Regions from separate parts of the Homo sapiens genome. Here region 2 is linked to region 1. The links are contacts of gene promoters, found by promoter capture Hi-C in human tissues and cell types (Jung and others, 2019). All regions are on one chromosome and are shown on one strand. The core of a region is centred on a gene start or on the middle of the fragment in contact, and the rest is flanking DNA. Distances in the headings are between cores, read along the strand shown. Region 1 holds the start of SLC4A5 (solute carrier family 4 member 5). Region 2 holds the start of LOC112268418 (a long non-coding RNA gene).

What was found. The method cuts DNA at HindIII sites, captures the fragments that hold promoters and counts their contacts. A contact is called where the count stands out against the background at its distance.
Region 2: a contact is called between a fragment that was not itself captured here and the fragment with the promoter of SLC4A5 in region 1, in 1 of the 25 tissues and cell types used here (spleen).

The regions. Positions count from the first base shown.
Region 1 is chr2:74,341,584-74,344,693 of GRCh38, forward strand. It overlaps SLC4A5 (solute carrier family 4 member 5), which reads right to left and starts at 1,833. Exons shown (of 31, transcript NM_133478.3): 1 at 1,773-1,833; 2 at 875-951. The HindIII fragment of the contact is 6,725 bases long and covers 565-3,110 here.
Region 2 is chr2:73,692,868-73,695,592 of GRCh38, forward strand. It overlaps LOC112268418 (a long non-coding RNA gene), which reads left to right and starts at 998. Exons shown (of 2, transcript XR_007087079.1): 1 at 998-1,034; 2 at 1,850-2,725. The HindIII fragment of the contact is 3,400 bases long and covers 1-2,725 here.

The DNA of each region.
Region 1 (3,110 bases), core at 583-3,082:
AATTGCTGACCAAGAGGGACTGCCCCACATCAGGCAGCCCATGCCATTACTGTGCTCACACTGTGCCCGACACAGAGCAAGGGATCATAAGTCCTGGGTGGCTTGAATTGACTCTTCCTAAAAAAAGAGTCTGTGATCTAGGAAGTCCAATATAAAAAGATGTTGCGGATTGCCCAGACTTAGAGTAAGAGGGGCAGAAATGAAGTAGGCATGGATGGTAATTTTGTTTTTCCATCAGGGCTGCTCTTACTCTGGAGTAAGGAGAGGAAGGCTAAGACACAAAAGGGGGACTCCGCCCAACCCAGCTTATGTCCTGTGATACCAGAAGGGAGCATTGCAATGACCTATTAAACCTCAAACCAAGCTGAATCCATTTCTGAGTAAGAGACTCTTACAGGGCTCCTGTCCTCAAAACTATATAAAATTGCTCAAATTATGTACTTCTGAGATAATAAATTAGCAGAAGAAGCACATAGCCCACCTCTTAAGATAGGGAAGTAGATCTGAAGTAGCTCAAGAAACAAAGTTTTCTACAGATGAAGGATGAGGGAAGGAAACCCAAGACCAGTTGATTCTGGTTTGGGAAATGATAACACTGGAGAACACACTCTACTATCTGTTTCTTGTGACATCCTTTGTGCTAAAGTTATCTCCTTTGTTGGCATGGCCACCATCCCTACTTCTAGTGCAGTGGAGATGTATGAGTGTCTCCATTGCTAAGTGTTTAGTTACTCAAGATAAACTTGACTGGAGAGGGTGTGGGCAGGCATTCAGTCAAGCAACAAGCCACTCACTGAGTGCCACCAATGGTGTGGGAAAAGATGACTCTCCTTAGACTGGTCCATCCAAAATAAAGGAGGTGGGGAGAGCATACCTGGGTGGTCTTCAGGGTACTCCTGGAAACATCCATCAGCTCATGAGCTCACAGCTGAATTCCAAATCCTGGGATGCCTGCTTGGAGGGAGGGTAAAACACCATTTCTCAGGGACAGAAGCCCACAAAGCTAAGGGCACTGGGTTTCTAAGTCAGGATTTCATCACGGCTGGATGACCCTTTTTTAAGGAAAGCCAGCTGATCTCCAGGACTCCTGATACATAAGAGCTATGCAGTCTGTCACTTCTAGGGAGAGAGATGGGGACTAGCTCTGGTTCCTCATGCGTTCCTTCCCTCTCACTCCCTAAAGACCTCAAGAAACAGATCCTTGGTAACAATGCCTTCTTTGGGCCAGAAAGCTTAGTTGAAGTGTGGATTCTTATACAAGTCTCATGTTTTCTGGACTCCTAGGAGACTCAGAGGAGACACCATAGGTAACCCTTATTGAACTGGAAGAAGTGTGAAGTACTATCAACCACTGAGACTCCCATGGCTCAAGAATATGCACAGAGGTCTAACTAGATATAGGTCTCAGCCCCTGACTTTAGAAGTCTGACATTCCACAGATATGCACACACTACACGCTCCCCTCACAGAGGAAACTGGAGTAGGGGGACACAGCAGAACAAAATCGCAACACTACTACAGGAAAACCTCGTCATTCCGTTACTTGTCCTTTGCTATGTTGGAATACTTATAGATTAGTTTCAACAATCAGGTTACTCCTTATCTTTGCTCTAAGTCTTGTACAGGCCTTTAGCAAAAAGCAATAAAATTCTCATCTGACTCTTGGTGGGCTGGGGAATCTGCCTATTCTATTCAGTTGGTTCACTCACATCTCCAAACCAGAACCTACAACCACTCTGTAACTTTATTTATGTAAAATCCACTCTACTTACCCCAGTGCAGTGGCCTGTGGCTCCTGGGCCCTGACTCCAATTCCTTTAGGGTGGACCTTGCAGTTGGAACCATCCACCTCTCGTTTTTTCTATCTCTGCTATTAACATAGCCCCTCCTCTATTGCCTCACCAACTATTTTCAAACCAAAAAGTCTTTGTCTATTCATAGCCACTGTAAAAGTAACATTCATTTTTCTGTTTTTTAATCTAATGTCTGCGTCTTCAGTGGTTCTCACTGGCTAATCTAATCAGTGTGTTCTAGGGAGGTTTATTCCTTGCCTGTTCAGCTTGTCCCAGCACAACAAAGGTAAGTCATTTGCCTGGGGAGAATCAGCTCTTTTAAATCAGACAATCCTCAGGAAAGATGTCAGGACTTTTGCCTCTTTTCTTCATGGGACTGAGATTCAGGAGAACATTCCACATTCCACTGCCACACAGCTCTGCAAACCCCAAATCCTGACTCTCCGAAGAAGGATATGGGCAAGGAAAACAAAGAAGGCATTTGAAAAAACCAAACCTTGCAAGAAAAACTTTGCGTACTTGGTGATTTTTCCAGGTTTATCCTGACTTTTGGCCTCTGTTTTTATGAATTCCATTTTTGTTTAAGTGAAAAAGATACGGTGAGAGAGACATAGTGGAAAATGGGAAGTTTGGAGGAAGATGGGAAGGAAGAAGCCAGTGAGTAGGAAGTGAGAATCGGGAGTGGAGGGAGTGAGGGACGCGGTGCTGAGCGATGGGGAAGAGAAGCATGCCAGGAAGGCGCAGCGTCTCTGGGCACCCAGCATGGGGCCTGGTATATGCACACATTTCCCCTCATTGAACTCTCAACAGTCCAGTGGGGAGAGCATTCTCGTCCCCAACCTTACAGAGCTGGAACAGAAGCTCAGAGACTTACAGACAGGAAGAAAAGTAGGAGCTGGAAGCCCCATTAAAAAAGCAACTCTACCCCTCTTCTTCCAGTCTCTTCTGTGGCTTCTCTAAGGGTCTTCAGCCTCCTTATTTCAGGGTTGACCTTCTCTTTCAGATAGGAAATTTATCATCTGGTTGGATATCCTCACTTTCTTCCTAGATCACGTGGAGTTTTCCCTTAGTGGAAAAGCCTCATTCCTGGATCTAGAGCCTGCTGGTGGCAGACATGTAAAAAACATGTTTCGGAGGCCATGCCCAAGCCAACACATTAACCCAACATTATAGTTTCTGTTAATAATCCATGGAATCAAAGACAGGCAAGACTAGGGAGATCAACACATGCTGGGTCACCAGAGGCTTTCCTGGTTTTAGCACAGAAGATCTGTGACCCAGGAAACCCCTTAGTCCCAGGAAGATCAGCACAGCCTA
Region 2 (2,725 bases), core at 64-2,563, 650 kb before region 1:
CTCTAAAACACTGCAATTTACTTAACCATGCCACTGTATTACTGCTGCCTGATGATGGTGAAGACCACAATTGCATAAGTGTAGCATCAGAAATAGTGGCCCCTCATGTTAATTTACAAGTTAGTCCTTTGGACAATCCTGAGTTAATACTTTTGTTGATGGGTCCTATGCCAAAAGCTCAGAAGGAAAATATCAGCTAGGATATGCTGTTACCAAAATGAGTTAATAGAGAAGGGACCCCTTCCTCTATTAGTCAGCTCTATTAGTCTAAGCTCTATAAGTCAGCTTAACTCTTGAAGATTTTTGCCCTCACCCAAGCTTGTCGTATAGCTAAAGACAAATCAGTAAGTATTTAGACAGATAGTAGATACGCTTTAGGAGTAGTACATGATTTTGGCATGATAGGGAAACTCTAAGGGTTTCTCACTTCTAGTGGGATCACCATCAAAAATGGACTCCAGTTAGATAAACTCCTAGTTTGCTGTTAGTGATCGAAGCTCATACCTGCAGAACTGAACCTGAATATCAAGGGAATGCTTAGCAGATATTTATGCTAAATCAGCTAGTACTGAAACTGTTCAGATATGCAACCTGAATGAACTTCATAAGATTAATCCAATCCAACTACCTTACAATGACCTATTTAATAAACAGTGCAATGCACCTCATTTGGAAAAACAAAACTGGTATCTAAAAGGATATAAATTCAATGTTAAGTGCAGACTCACAGAGGGCCTAGATGGCTGTCTGGTCTTTCCTGAGTCTTTGAAGCTTCTATTTTCAAAAGCTCTGTACTCCACAACTCATCATGGAACAGAAAAATACGTCCAAATTGTGAAAAAATACTTGTGGGATGATTGTTCCAAAATTGCTAGAATATATATATATATATATATGTATATATATTTTGAGACGGAGTCTCACTCTGTCACCCAGGCTGGAGTGCAAGGGCGCGATCTCAACTCACTGCACACTCCACCTCCCTGGTTCAAGTGATTCTCCTGCATCAGCCTCCCGAGTAGCTGGGACTACAGGTGTGTGCCACCATGCCCGACTAATTTTTTTTTATTTTTAGTAGAGATGGGGTTTCACCATGTTAGCTAGGATAGTCTGGATATCCTGACCTTGTGATCCACCTGCCTCGGCCTCCCAATATGCTAGGCTTACAGGCATTATCCACTGCACCCAGCCTGCTAGAATATTTTATAACCAATGTTGGCTTGTCAAACCCATAGTCCTGGAAAAACAAAAGATTCAGGTGGTGTATTGTATTTTCACCACCTAATGGATCATTTGAACAATTATAGATAGACTTCATTCAGTTGCCACCTTCAATGGGGGTCTCAGTATGTTCTTGTAATAGTTTCCATGTTTTCTGGTTGGGTAGAGGCCTTCCTGTGTAGGAAAGCTGATGCTGTGACAGTAGCTAAGAAATTATTAGAAAATGTGTTTTCTTTATGGAGCATCCCTGGAAAAATCCCCAGCAATAGGGGAATTCATTTTATTAGGCAGGTTATAAAGCAGTTAAACAAGGTGTTATGGACACAATGGCACTACCATTGTCCCTATCGCCCTCAGTCTTCTGAAAAGGTTGAAAGAACAAATGGCATATTAAAACTGAAATTGGCAAAGTTAACTGAATCAGTTGGGTTGCCTTGGCCAAAGGTACTATCATTGGACTTAATGACAATCAGATCCACTCTCACTAAAAAACAGAAGTGGATCCCTTATGAAATAGTCACTAGAAGGCCTATGCCCCAATAGTGAAACCTCATGCATCTTTCTGTCTCCTAAATTCTGATATGAGTAAGTACTGCAAGGCCATTATACCAAAGTGTACTTTCACCAGATAAAGGAAGCTTTTCAAGATCCACCAACTGAGGATAATCAAACCTTCCACAGTCTAGAACCTGGAGATTGTGTCTTCTGGAAATGACATCAGAGAAAGGCTGCTCTTGACAACTCTTTGGAAGGGACCGTGCTGAGATCTTCTCAACACCTACACTGCAGTGAAGCTTCAGGGCCTTGAAACTTGGGTCCACACCTCACAACTCAGAAGGGCCTCTTCAGACTCCTGGAACTGTACACCTGCTGGAGACTTTAAGGTAAAGCTGTCTAAGGAAATATCTCTCCAGAGCAGCGGGCATTCTAGCTGTGGACAGCTTTCCCAAGATCACAGATCAAGACTTCTGTATCATCATGAAAGCCTTACATTTTTTCTTTTCTCCGCATTTCCTGTTGCCCTAATTCTTTCTTTTTCCCTACAGAAAAATCCATGGGACGATAATCAGTGGATGGCTTTAGCTTGAGCATATGCTCTAGCACAGAACCAGAGTTTGTGGCTTATTGGGTTTGTTTTTATTGCCAAAAAAATAAGGAAACAATTCCGCTAATGCCAATGCCTCTCCATGTTGCCAATGAGAGTCACCCCAAAATTCCAAGGGAAGGATAGAAAGCTATCCTTGATATTCTGAACACCATTGCTACTTGTTTTCCTGCACTCACTAAAAGCAACACTTTAACTTTTCCTTTTTTTTTTTTTTTCTGAGGCAGTCTCACTCTGTTGCCTAGGTTGGAGTGCAGTGGCCTTATCTTGGCTCACTACAGCCTCCACCTCCAAGGTTCAAGCAATTCTCCTGCCTCAGCCACCCAAGTAGCTGGGACTCTAGGCATGCACCACCGCATCCAGCTGATTTTTGAATTTTTAGTAGAGACTAGATTTTGC